Linked DNA regions of Homo sapiens: regions 1 and 2 are each linked to region 3. The links are contacts of gene promoters, found by promoter capture Hi-C in blood cells and fetal thymus (Javierre and others, 2016). All regions are on one chromosome and are shown on one strand. Each heading gives the region's core, a stretch centred on a gene start or on the middle of the fragment in contact. The rest is flanking DNA. Distances are from core to core; before and after follow the strand shown.

Region 1 (4,806 bases), core at 1,719-4,218, 1.0 Mb after region 3:
TCCAAAGTTCAGTTTCCCAAAAACCATCTTATTTATCATGGGAAAACATGCAAGACAGTAGTATAAAGCAGACTGAAATGGGGGCTCAAATCAAAGGCTGTAAGATCCAAAAACAGGGAAAAATGAATTCTCACAGGGAGGATAAATAATGGGTTCATGACAGAAGTAGCATCTGAACTCAACTGTAAAGGATGGATAGGTACATCACAGGTAAGGAAAAATAGGAAAACATTTCTGCTGATAAGAATAGACAATAAAGCATGGAAGAGGGAAATATGCACTTTGAAGCATATTAAACATTTCTTTGCAACTAAAGTTTCATATCTATGTCTATATTGGTATTTATACCTATCTCTATTAGTTGGCTAAATTAGCACTTTTCCTTCAGGTATATAAGAGAGTGCTCATTTGCAAGATTGAGGCCAGATCTTGGTAAGCCTTTAATGCCAGGATAAAGAATTAGACTTCATTGAGTATGCCACAAATGCCATTCAGGGCTACTAGAGTTCCCCACAAGCCCAATGAATAAATAGCACCTGATTTTTCAAAAGCCAAATAAACAGCCAATAGCAGTGCAAAGTTAAATGAGTAGATAATCTCCATGTCATAAGTATATATGGAAGGCAGCTATTCCCTTTTTTCTTACCTCTCTAAAAATAAATGACAATTCAGAGAAAAGTAGTAATCTTCTATTCTAAACAAAATGAGCAGGCAGGGTCCCCCAAGTTTTAGGGCAAAGGAAGAAAGGAAGAAAAGAAGGGAGGGAGGGAGGAAGGAAGGAAGAAAAAAAGGAAGGAAGGAGGGGAGAAAGGAAAAAAGGAAGGAAGGGAGGGAGGGAGGGAAGGAGGAAAGAAAAAGAGGAAGAAGGAAGGAAGGAGAAGGGAGGGAGACAAGAAGGAAAGGAGGAAAGAAAAAGAGGAAGGAGGGAAAAAAGGAAGAGAGGGAGAGAGGGAAGAGAAAACAAGTCTCCTCTAAGCAGGGCCAGGCTTAAAATGATGTTTTTCAGTTAGTACCAAAAATATTCCCCAATCCAAAGAACGCTGGTTTGCTGCTTCCATTGTCTCAAAGGATGTATAGAATTCCACTATTTTCCATCACCAGCTGAAGTAGTTTCTAGTGTTTTCTTGGAGCCAGACTACATTCTAATTTCCTTCAGGGCAGTGGAAATCATGGAAAGATTAATCCTGTGTATATATAGCCTTGCACAGCGTAATACTGTGGATGAGGATTAATCGTACACAGTACCAGAATTCACTGAAGAGTATCTAACTTGGTTAGCATCTTCACCAAGCAGAAGTTAGCATTAGTTCCAAATCCATCTGAATCTCCATCAAAACCATCAGCAGCTGCCAAGGAAACTATGAACAAACTAAAGCAAGTCTTCACCTTTCCAAAATAAGAAACACTTCAGAGTCTGACAGTCTAATAGTTAGACTAACTTTAGTCAAGCTAAGCATCTCCAAACTCAAGAGACAGCTAGCAGGAATCTTTAAGATAACAGCCAGCAAAAACAATTTAGTATTCATTGTCCACATCATTCAAGCACCGCTGAGTCCTACCGTACACTTCCTCCAAGTCACCCTTCTGAAACCCTAGGAACAACACTTGTACTTAGCTGCAAGTTCTGTAGTTGCTCAGTTCCTACACAATTACAGCAGTAATTAATTTAGATTGGGATTATTTTCTTATAATTGAGAAGACTAATGGTCTCCAAACCAACAAGATGGCTTTGTACAGAAAAATCCACAGTAAGCTATAACAATTGAAGTTACAGTTTGAGTGGGTTGGCATATATATTTGCTCCTTTCTTTTGTTTAAGACAGAACCACTTAAGATAAGAGATTTATGTTTTGGAATTTCAGTACTATTTTTTTAAGAGGTGGTATCCTAGAGAGCTCAATCAATATTGTTATACATTGGAAACATTTATGGTGCCATAGGTGTTTACTATTCACAGATCTGGGGAAGATACCTGCCAGGGATATTTCACTACACTGAAACTCCCTGGAAATCTGTAGAGGTAGAGCTCTGCCTTTGGGCATTAGTCATTAAAAATATCTTGTCAGCTACTGTGACAAGTAAAGGCAGCTGAGAAGTACGGTCTAAAGAAGGGTAAATCTCGCCGTGTGCACAGTTACCCTTCGCATTTCTACAAGTGAAATGGGAGTAAAAATGAGCATTCAAAGCTGTCAAAGGAAAAGCAGTCCAGCAGTTCGAAGGGATATTCTGTGATGGACCAACTGTATGGTACAGTGTGTAAATGAACTTCAGGTCTATCTAGCGCCACGGGGGAGCCACGCTTTCGCACCACTGAGCTCTGGGGATGGGGAGAGTAGTGCAGGTTGGGGCCCCGTTTAGGAAACTACGAAGGGCTCTGAGAGAGCGAATTGTTCAGCAGTTTCCGTGACAGAACAATGATCTATTTAAGAAGTAATGGGGCAAGCAAAGAAAGCAGAGCTCGGTCATCCGGAAAAAGAAAGAGGAGCCGGAAAGAAAAGTATCAAGGAATCTACTGTGAGAGAGCGAGCAAAAAGCAAAAAGCGATCACAAATCCAGAGCAAGTAAGAGCTCAGGGATGCCGGGCCCGGGGGTCTAGCCTTTCTGAAGGGAGAGGGCTCCCCAGGCACGGGGGCAGCGCGAGGCAGCGCCCGCATTCCGTCTGCTGCCTTATCTTCGCATTCTCCCTACCACCCCCACCTTCCCCCCGGGACTGGAATAACCTTCTTCGTGCTCTCCGGTGGCTGAGAAAGCAGCTTTCGCTCTTCTGTGGTAGCGTGGAGGTGAGGTACATCTACCTCCACCCTCCCGGCACCAGCTCACGGTCTGTTGGGGGGGTCCTCCTAACGTGTGAGGCTAGGGTGTGTGAATGAAAAAGAGGGAGGCGGAGGCCTCCTGGAGACCTTCGACCTCTCAAGACCAGGCAGGGGCGCCCTTCCGCAAGCTCCCAGCTCTAGCCGGTGCCTCTGGCCCCGCGCGCATTAGGTCGCTGCCAGAAAATTACCCGGGCAACGACACCGCCGGAGTCCCGGATGTGGTTGCTAGGGCAGCAGAGGGAGGGGCGTAGCCCGCCTCCCGGAGAAGGGCGGAGGGATCCTCGTGGGAGGTGCGCTGACACCACCGAGACGTGGCCGGGCAAGGCCGGATTGAGGGAGAGAGAGGCCGTCCAGGGCCAGGGACAACGCTACTTCCGGTCTCCTCACTTCCGGCTTCGCTGCTCTTGGTTCTGGTTCTGGAGGCTGGGTTGAGAGGTCGCCGGTCCGACTGTCCTCGGCGGTTGGTCAGTGTGAATTTGTGACAGCTGCAGTTGCTCCCCGCCCCCGAGCAGCCGAGGTGCGTGGGGGAAGGGGAAGAAGGAAAAGGTCCGGGTCGCGTTTCCGCTCAGTTTTTGCCAGGGTTGAGGCGATTCCAGAGAGCGGCGGAAAGGATAAGCCTCGACTTAGAAGCTACCGAGTTACCCTAAGAAAGGTGAGGGCGGAGCTGGCTCGCCTGGGAAAAGGCGGGGGAAAGATGGTTTGAGGTGGCTGGTGGGGCGGGCACGTTGCCTACGGGTTCACCGTTCCGAACTTTCACAGGGCACGCCTCTCCTTAGTCTGTGCCGTATCTGCCCAAGTGTTATGCCTTTGGTTTCTTCTGTCCTTCATTCCTTCTGTCCCTCTGAGTGTGCCCCCGAAACAGTCGAGTGAAGGTGTAGGACCGGCCCTTGCAGGGAGGCACTCTCTTGGCTTTGCATACATTGGGTGGGAAAAGGAGTTGCAGGATCCAGAATCCGGACCTTTCTTGACAAAGTGTCGGAGTGGGCCACCTTCAGGCTTGCTGTCCAACCCTCATTTCTCCCCTCTTCTCCCTGCATCCCCAGCTTCCTCTCTCCCGCAGTGGGAGGAAGGGAGATAGTGACAGTCCCTCTGAGAGATTCATCTGGCAGTGGTGCAGAGAGGAGTCTTGCCTGTGAAATGTCCCAAGCCTGACTAAGGAATGCTGGAGTTTTGGAAAGGGAGTTGTTCGATTGTCTTCTGCTCCGTTCCTGTTTGCCAAGTTACTACTGTTTACGTGTCTAGGAAAAGGAAATAATTTTTTAAAAACAGTTTTTAGATGCTAGACGTTTTTCCCTTTTACTTTATTTTGTTATTACTTCCTTTGTTTTGTTCTTACCTTCCTCTTGAGCCCTTTGATTTCAAAAAGTTTACACTTTATACTTCCTGCAGATCCTTTGGCCACTCTTAGGATTTCTGTCCCCCGCCCCTACCCTGTTTTCTCCTAAAGTATAAAATTCATCTAACTACATTATTATTTGATAAGGAAAAGCCGGAAGAGATCCAGAACTTCGCATAAACTTTTGCTTTCATACTTTCACCTGTAAGGGTGTGTTCATGTTTGCCATTTAATTAACTTAATTGGCATAGAAATGTGCACCAGAAATGGTTACCTTAAGTCAGCCGTCTGTTAAGGCTTCAGGAATTGGCCTTTTCTTTTTTCTTTTTTTTTTTTTTTTTTTGAGACAGAGTCTCACTCTGTCGCCCAGGCTGGAGTGCATTGGCACGATCTCGGCTCACCGCAACGTCCACCTCCCAGGCTCAAGCTTTTCTCCTGTCTCAGCCTTCTGAGTAGCTGGGTTTACAGGTAGGCGCCACTACCGCCTAGCTAATTTTTGTATTTTTAGTAGAGACGGGGTTTCACCGTGTTGGCCAGGCTGGTCTCAAACTCCTGACCTCAAATGATCCTCCCTCCTCGGCCTCCCAAAGTGTTGGGATTACAGGCGTGAGCCACCGCGCCCGGCCGAATTGGCCATTTCATTGCTGTTCTCTCAGA
Region 2 (4,517 bases), core at 1,473-3,972, 2.0 Mb after region 3:
CCACTGAATCCTCATGTCTGGTGCATGGCACACTCAATGTGTTTGGAGACTGCCACCCCGATTGGCTTTCATTATCTCTCACCTGAACTGCTGCCTCCAAACTGATTTTGTCACTTTCAACTCTTCCCTCACAAAACCCACCTGTTAGAAAAATCTTTCTAAACCAAGTAGCAAAGCCAGAACAATGAACTCAGAAACTAGTGATGACCCTGGACCACATGTGAGTGCCAGGTAGGAATGTTAGGTTTAGAGGGCTGTATTCATTGGTAAGGAATTCATGTCACAAGGCAAGGCTGCATGCCTGTGGGTGGAGAGGAGGGGCTGTGTATGGCCTGCCCCCAGGCAGAGAGCAGTTTTGGGGAAGTGGTGGGTCCTCTCAGCTCTCAGGAGAAATCCGAGCCTGGAAAGCAAGCCTTAGACAAGCAGAAGAGGGAACTCCTAAACCCATGGTCTCTGCTCTCACACTCCAAATTTTAGGAGTTTCAAACATACCTAACCAGTTGCAGGCTCAAAAGACCCCAGGGGTTGTAGCTGGGGAGGTGGAGGATGGGGAATAGGGAGATGGTGTTTGTCCAGTAAGGTATGCTGGAGTTAGGGTCTTACATCATAAGATTGTACGTTACTGTTCATTTATTCATTCAATAAATATTTATTGAGGCCCTGCCGTTTGCTGAGACTGTTCTAGGTCCTGGAAATACAGGAGCGAGCAAGGCAGACCACATGGCTTTTCTGCTGGAGCTTTCATGCTGAAGGAGGTTCTTAGACAATCAAATACACACATAGACATACTTCAGGTAGTGATAAGGGTGATGAAGGAAAATAAAATAGGGTGAGGTTCAAACCAAAGGGAAGCTATCAGATAATAGGCTGGTCAGTAACTATCTCTGTTTTCACTTTCTTATCCCTAGCTCTAGTAAAGTCAAGAAACCAGCACTTCTTGAACTTTGATGTGCAAATGAATCACCCTGGGATCTGGTTAAAATGCGGATTTCAATTCAGTGGGTCTGGCGTGGGAACTGAGACTGCATTTTTAACAGGCTCCCAGGTAATGCCTTGGCTGCTGGTTCCTGGACCACACTGTCTTGCCATATGGGATTAAGGGAAAAGCTGTGAGTCCCTCCTAGGGCAGCCTCAACAGAGAGGCCATACCTCCTGAGGGCAGCAGACTAGGCAGTGATGCCAGCCTTAAGGAAGAGCAAAGATCAGCAGCAAATCCACCAGTACTAGATCCTCTGACACTCCTGGCATGCATTCATCAATTCAGAACCTCCCTTTCGATAATCTGGGTTTGAAACCAGCAAGAAAGTCATGGAGTTTCATTTTAAGTTTCCCCATTTTGTGGTACACAAGCCCCTCCACAGCCTAGCCCACCCTTATTTTTTGCTATAAGCATTCCTGACCCCTAGGTTTCTGGCAGTCAGAGTGGACAGTCCCCTCTCTCTGCCTTGTCCCATGGCCATCCATCCCAATATTAAAAAAAAAAAAATCTCCAAGCCATTTGGTACTGTTGTTCCCTCCATCTAGAATTCTCTGGCCCATGAGGTCAGATCCTGTCCATTCCCCAACACCCAGCTCGAATGCCACGCCCTCACGGGTTGGAGGAGAAGGGGGTTAGTCAGGAGCAAGCCCTTCTCAGAAATCCTACAGTTCTTTGCCTGAACCTATTTTGGGACATTAATCTCTTCCTACCCGCTCTGTGAGTGATTTTTGTTGTTGTTTAAGAGTTATCTTTGCCCTTAAGAGTTATTTTTGTCCTCGTTTTACGGATGGGATTTGGGTTCCTCCAGGTAAGACCTACCCTCCTCCACCCCCAAATCCTCCTGGTACCTGGATGTAGCCTAAGAAGAATTGTCCTATGAACGAAGAATAAATTAAGATTGGGTTTGCAATTGACGCCAGCAGAAGCAGAAATGGGCTAGGTTGAGCACCAGGCAAGACAAGCTGACGATCAGGGTACACATCTTGAATCAGAAACCCTGGGCACAGACCAGCAGTCTGCGTGGTAACAGGCCCTCCGAGTGATTCTGATGACACTCGAGTTTGAGAACCAGGGCGGTCTAGCCAAAAGCCTGCAGTACACCCCTTCCCCTCTCTCGCAGCTTACGACCTTGACCCTGGGCTCTGGGGGCTTCCGCCGAGGAGGGAGGAGGGCACAGGCGGTCACAAAGGAGGGCGGGAGTGGAAGGGGTGAGCCTGGAAGAGAAAGTGCGAGGATGCGAGAAGAGGGATGGAGCGAAGGAAGAGGATCAGAAGGAGGAAAGGAAGGTAGCGGGGAGGGCACAGAAGTGGGGAGGGAGGGAGTGGAGGAGGGACTGGCACCCCGCACGGTGGCATCTTCCAGAAGGTCATGCGTCCGTCCCCACGTCTTTCCAGGGCCGGTTCTCCCCGGTGGGGCCCGGGGTCTTGGAGACCAGTCTGTGCAGCCTGCCCGGCACCAGCGTGAGCCCCGGGACCCCGGCCTGGCGTCCCCCACGCCCGCGCCCCCGCGCCAGTACCTGCTCCTGCTGCGGGGGGGCCTCCAGCACCGGCGCTGCCTTCCGCGCCGCCGTCCCCGCGGCCATGCCTGAGCCACTGTGCCTTCTCCAGGGCACAGCGCCTGCCGGGGAGGGTCCCGCAGAGTCCGCAGAAGGAGGCGCCGCGGGGCCTCGGGAGCCGAGGGTGAGAGCCGGATCTGCGGCGGCGGCGGAGCGGCGGCCCTGCCCGGGTTGTGCGGGGCGGGAGATGGGAGCCTCCCGGCACGCCCCGCCTCCGCCCCCTGCACGCTGGCCAGCGTCCTCCCCAGCAGCGGCCTCGAGGTCCCGGTCGCCAGCACCCCGGTTCCTTCAGAACCTCAGGCCTCCCATTCAGCCAGCCATTGTCGCCGATAAAGCGTCTTGAGCCCTACCGGGTGCGTGTGGCGGGAACCCCGGTTTTGTTACCGGGCGGCAGGACTGGAGGAGGGGTCAGAGGTGGGTAGGGAGAGAGAGGGGAGTAGAGGAGTGAGAAATGGCGGTGGGGGGGCGAGGGGTGCTGGGGAGGAAGAGAAGAGAGAGAGAGAGTTTCCTCTCCCTCAGAGGTGTTTATTAGGAGGCAGGAGTTCGGGTGGCTGTGCAGATACAGACTTTCCTCAGTTATCTGTGCTTCCTCCAAAGATGATGAAGGAGAGAAACTCCAATCTAGGGAGAGCGCAGACCATCTTGGCCCCTATGCTGCTCCAGGCCATGCAGGGCCCCTGCGACGCAAGCATCTTGCCTTTGCCCCTCTACCTCCAGGGTCTCCCCTCCCGCCTTTACAACTTAGGCCTAAGCCTGGCTTCAAGGTTGAGAACAAGCTGGAACGTTTAGGCAAGCCTTTAGAAATACCTGGGTGTTGATTTGGGGAAACAGAAAAGAGGAGCACAGAATTAGATGATGTGTCCTACGAAATACAGCTTACCCCTTTCCAGTTTGTGATGGCTCGTATTTGTCAACACCTACAAAGGAGGTGAACAGACCAAGATGGACATTTCTCTGCCATTGTGGAACGTAGAGCCTAACAGGGGATAGAGAAAAATAAGCATCTAAGTACAATTTATCACGGATGGTGCCTTGGTTTTCCAGCCTTAACTGGGCATCAGAATCCTATGGAGGAATGCTGAGTTTGTTAAAACTCAGAGTGCTGGCCAAGCACAGTGGCTGATGCCTTTAATCCCAGCACTTTGGGAGGACAGGGCGGGCGGATTGCTTGAACCTAGGAGTTTGAGACCAGCCTAGGCAACATGGTGAAGCCCCATCTCTATAAAATATACAAAAGTGAGCTGGGCGTGGTACACCTGTAGCCCCAGCTACTCAGGAGGTTGAGGCTGGAGGATCGCCGGAGCCCGGGAGGTTCAGGCTGCAGTAAGCCGTGATGGAACCACTGCACTTCTGCCTGGACAACAGAGCGAGACTCTATCAAAAAACAAAACAAAAATCTTCAGATTGCTGGAGTTGAGCCCTAGAGTTTTTAATATAGTAGGTCTAGGGTGGAGCCTGAGCATTTGTCTTTTGAACAAGTTTTCAGGTGCCGCTGGGGCTGTTACCTACATCTGAAGACTACCTTGTAGCATGATCAGAGTGTGTTGGAAAGAGTGTCTGAGATGGAGAGAACAGTGGATGCAAGGGCCGGAATGCTGGAGAAGGCATAATGAATTGGAGAAATAAAAATCATGGTTAACATTGATAGAATGCTTACCGTGTGCCAGGTGCCGTCCTGAGCACTCTACCTGTGTTAGCTCATTCAGTCTTCCTGACAATCCTGTGAGGTGGGCATTGTGACCGTCCGTGTTTTACACGGGAGAACACTGAAGCACAGAGAGGTCCAGAAGTTTGTTCAAGTTTTGAAGCTAATAGGTGGGGCAGTGGGAATTTGAACCCAGACAAAACTGACTTCATGGTCTGGGTTCTTAATCTCTCAAGGAAGTAGCTGCGAAGGTCAGCAAGGGCCAGATCCACATAAATCATATTAAACAGTTTGGACTGTAGCCTCAGGAGAATGAGAAGCCATTACCGAGTTTTAAG
Region 3 (4,230 bases), core at 236-2,735:
CACCACACTAAACCATCTGATGCGGCATATTTTTGGTCCCCCAAATCACTTTCAATTCCTGAGACCTAATTTCAGGTTACTTTTTTAATGCTTATTTGCTATCAAATCTAAGAAGCTGTTAAATGCTATAATAATCTCTCTTATCTGGTCAGTCCTACTCTGTTGGGTCTGTACATAGGCCTCTCCAGGTCCTTATAAATGTGCTTATTCCCTATGAAATCCATGTATGTTCCTATCCTGCTCTTCTCCCAAGTAATTTTGTGTATATACATATATATATATATACATATTTTACATCGTTTTGTTTTGTTTCAATCATTTCAACATATAAAGTTCTATATCTGAAGTACTGCAAGAATAAGTCCTTCTTTTTAAAGTTTGGAAACACAGCCCATAAGGGAGGGGAATTAAAGTAGGAACTCATTAGAAATTCTGCATGCAGTAAAGCACCATTCAAAGTATTTTTGCATTTCCATTACATGAGAGAAAAAATGTACTTTCCATTCACAAGGAAACAATCTAATTCACGAAAAGAATACAAAACTGAATACTTCTTTCTGGACAATTTCCCTCTGTTCCTCCAACTGAAAGTAAAAATAATGCCAACTAGTCTCAAAGAATAAACAAAATATTAGAAACTTGCCATATGTTTCTGTATTTAAAGAGAAACTATTTAATTCTTACATAATGAAGCATAAACAGCTGTTCAGGGGATATCTGGCCAAATAAGCAAAACTCTCCATATAACCAGGGGGAGTATCTCTTCTTTTGGCTGCGTCCTCCTAGGTCTAGTCACACATATTCCAACATAAAACGCCTGCACAGATAGCTAGTGTTTTCTGACTAATGACAATAACCCACCACTACCAAGAGCTTGTAGGTAAAGGCTCCCTTTCTACCTTTAGAACGCTGCCAGCCCATACTAGCGCTAAATAAAATCAGCTAAATATGATCCCGCTTCTCGTGTCACCGTCCCCACTGCTAGTGCTATTAGTAAGATGACCGAATCCACTCTTCTGTCTGTGCACCCTTCAAGAAAATATTTGCTATTTTACACTCGCGAATTCCCCAACTACATCTATTTGAAAACAGTGGTTTATATATGGGGGCGGAGTTGATAGAAAGTCTGTTTGTGCTTTTATTTAGGTTTCGGGGCTCCAGGTTATAACTCAACGCCCTCCCGTCAGCCAAAACGTCTAGAAGCTGGGCCGTAATTGCCATTATTTCCCCAGTCCTGCAGTTCCACCTCACAGTTAGGTGGGCAGAAATGTATGAAACAGAATACCCTTTCCTCGTCTTCTGGGCCGTGTGGAGGGGCTGCTGAGCCACTGAGCTCTCTCCCCTAATCTGGTTGGATGTGGACCCAGTCGGAGCCCCTCTTCGGTGGCAAGAACCACCGTCAACCCGGGCGAAAGCCCAACGTCTTCCACGGCAGCCCCAGCGCAGCATGGGCGCCGCCATTGTAACTCCAGGGTCTTGGTCAGGTGACTCAGCCTCACTATGCCGCGAGGCTCCCTGGGAAGCGTAGTTCTGGAAATGCATTAAAAACGCCATAGGCTCGGACCGGAAGACTACTATTCCCGGCGAGCATTGTGATTCGAAGCCTGCCGGAACCCCGCGGAGAGGGGAGGGAAGGAGAAATAGAGGAGAGGGTGGGAGGGTTTCTGGGTGGGGAGGTGTGACTCCTCCTAGCGGGGAGTTGGAGAGGTTTGTGGCTGTGAGCGTGTGTATAAGTTAGAGTGTGAGCGCTTGATGCTTGGTGCTAAAGCGTGGCCGGGATTTTATAACCCAGTTAACCTTGCAAGGGGAAGTAAATGACCTTGACAGCTCAGCAGAGACTTCCTCAGCCCCCAAACCCAATCCGTTATATTCTCTGTCTACTCTCCTGCTTCACTCAGCAATTTGTGCGTTAATGCAACAAATACTTATTTGCATGCCTACCGTAATGCCAGGCTCAGTTCTCTTAGGCACTGTAGTTACTGCAGAGATCAAGACAGTTATGGCCCGCATGTTCATGGAGCTTACATTCTAAAGAAGGGAGACATACAGAAGTTAACAAAAATAAGATACTTCCATATAGGTAGTAAGTGCTATGTTTAAGCAGAGGTAATTGGAGACAAACAGCCCTAGATTGAATGTTCATGTACATTTTAACCTCCTTTTTATTATTGGCCAGTATCAGAAACACACTCCTTATATGCTAGGAGCAGATACCATCGTCCCAGCGGACTTCCTTCATTTTCCTGTGTCAAAACTAATACCCCTTGTTAAAACTGCCACCGATTTCTTGTGTTTGAACACAGTCTAGAATAGTCATTTAGCCACTCTCTATTTCATCACCCGACTTTGATTGTCCTCGTAGTGCTTTTGACTGCCTGATGTTTATCTTCTATTTCCACAAATTCCTCGTCTGTCTTATTCACTACAGTACAAAGTAGGTTCCTTAAAAATATTTGTTGAATAAAGTAGTGCAGTGTGGAGAATGCATTTGACAAAGGATGGAGTGGATGCCCTTTGGAGCAGTAATTGTTTAGGGGAGAGATGATGAGTTAGGGTGGTGGCAGAGCCAAAGAGAAATGGATCTGTTTGAGATAGATATAGGAAGTAAAATTGAAGGACTCTGATGGATTGGATATGATGGTGGAAGGCTAGGAGAAACAAATAACTCCTGGATTTCTGGTTTGCACAACTGGCTGATGAAGTTATCCACCGAGATAAGGAAACCAGAAAAGGAACAGGTTTGCAAAGAAAACATATGAGTTTGGTTGCCTTGGAGACATTCAAGAGGAGAAATCAAGTAGACATCAGTGATGCCTAATTCTGAGTATAGAGCAGGGCAAGGGGAAAAGCTGCATATTTTGTATACTTCACATTGATAGATTTTCAGTTATTGATCAATAATCCATTGATTAGTTGGCTGTAACCTTTGATCTTTTCCTTTAATACACTTCAATTGCATATCCATATGGAAGAAAGAAACTTTAGTTACTGTCCTTAAAATTGTCATCATTTATTTTTTCCATCTTTTCTACTTTTTCATCCACTATCACTGTTCTAAATTGCCACACCAGAAGTATCAGTCATTTGACCAAGGATGAAAATGACAAAAATGACAGGGACTGGAAGGGAGTGGTGGAGACTTGTTCCAAAATTTCTCTCTAATTATTGCCCTTTATTTAAGGTTCAGATGATTCTCTAGATCCTTTACTAGAGTCTTCCCTCTGAGTTTCCATGTTTTCCACCTTTACTCTAGGTAAGCTAGCTTTCTTTTACTTATTTAGCTCCTCAGGTTTTTCTGGCCCAGACTAGGGGTCAGGAGAGTTGCCTCTGAGCACAAAATGGCTTCACTTTTGTTAGGACAACAGAGGAGAATGGAATCTTGTATCTCTAGCTAAAAAGAGAGGGGGACACTTGTTACCTCATCGCTGGTAATCAGCATCCTTAAAAGGCGATTCACTCCATCAAATGGAAGATTGGGAATGTTTTGAAAACCACTGTAAGGGAGAGCAACACATTTAATGAAAATCCTAATCTTACGGGTAAAACGCGCTATAAGGGAAGCTCATCTTTGTTTCTGAAGCGGTATTATTCAGTAATAGGCTATCGCCTCAAAGGCCCCACCCCACCACTAGAGGAGATAAAAATCCTACGCATGTAAGTGTATTTGCTTCCTTTCACGAACGGAAACCGGCCAGTTTCCTGCATCTTGTCTCTATCTAATCATTGCCCTTTCAAAAATCCTATAGAACTAATCGTGGAAATAGAGACTTGTCAATAACCATCTCTTTGGCTGTCCTCTCCCTCAAGACTATTTGTCATTTCCCGAAATGCCTGTAGTTTTCCTTGTGAAAACAGGAGCACTGTTTTCTGAGTGCTCCCCCTGCCTTGCTCCTTAGCTGGTCATACTCCCACCAAACCGCCTTCTGTGGGACCATTTCTAGCCTTCCTGCTGCATGCCAAATCTGATATCTGTCAGAACTATTGCTGATAGACAGCTCTCCAGCTGCGAGAGCTATTTTGGTTGCACCGACAAGGTGGCTGTCATCTGGGAGACACAGAGATTTTCATTTTCAAGGAACTCAGAAGGTAGCTGGGCAGAGTTTCTAGCAAAAACAACATTTTTCTTAGGGAGAGCCTCTCGGCTCTTATTTTATCCATATAATTGATACACAGTACAAATAGATTTAGAACAGGTTTTTAAAAAGCTATGTAAAGCAGAGCAGAATTTCG

What was found. The method cuts DNA at HindIII sites, captures the fragments that hold promoters and counts their contacts. A CHiCAGO score of 5 or more calls a contact.
Region 1: a contact is called between the fragment with the promoter of TIGD4 here and the fragment with the promoter of GATB in region 3, in 2 of 17 cell types (non-activated CD4 T cells and naive CD8 T cells). The highest score is 5.4, in non-activated CD4 T cells.
Region 2: a contact is called between the fragment with the promoter of RNF175 here and the fragment with the promoter of GATB in region 3, in 1 of 17 cell types (naive B cells). The highest score is 7.7, in naive B cells.

Annotation. Positions count from the first base shown.
Region 1 is chr4:152,776,762-152,781,567 of GRCh38, forward strand. It overlaps TIGD4 (tigger transposable element derived 4), which reads right to left and starts at 2,969. Exons shown (of 2, transcript NM_145720.4): 1 at 2,721-2,969. ARFIP1 (ARF interacting protein 1) reads left to right here and starts at 3,193. Exons shown (of 9, transcript NM_001025595.3): 1 at 3,193-3,465. RefSeq lists enhancers at 2,411-2,620, 3,071-3,230, 3,421-3,470. The HindIII fragment of the contact is 8,897 bases long and covers 1-4,574 here.
Region 2 is chr4:153,757,302-153,761,818 of GRCh38, forward strand. RNF175 (ring finger protein 175) reads right to left here and starts at 2,723. Exons shown (of 9, transcript NM_173662.4): 1 at 2,496-2,723. The coding sequence starts at 2,561. The HindIII fragment of the contact is 8,763 bases long and covers 1-4,517 here.
Region 3 is chr4:151,759,522-151,763,751 of GRCh38, forward strand. It overlaps GATB (glutamyl-tRNA amidotransferase subunit B), which reads right to left and starts at 1,486. Exons shown (of 13, transcript NM_004564.3): 1 at 1,286-1,486. The coding sequence starts at 1,461. RefSeq lists an enhancer at 1,202-1,481. The HindIII fragment of the contact is 14,733 bases long and covers 1-4,230 here.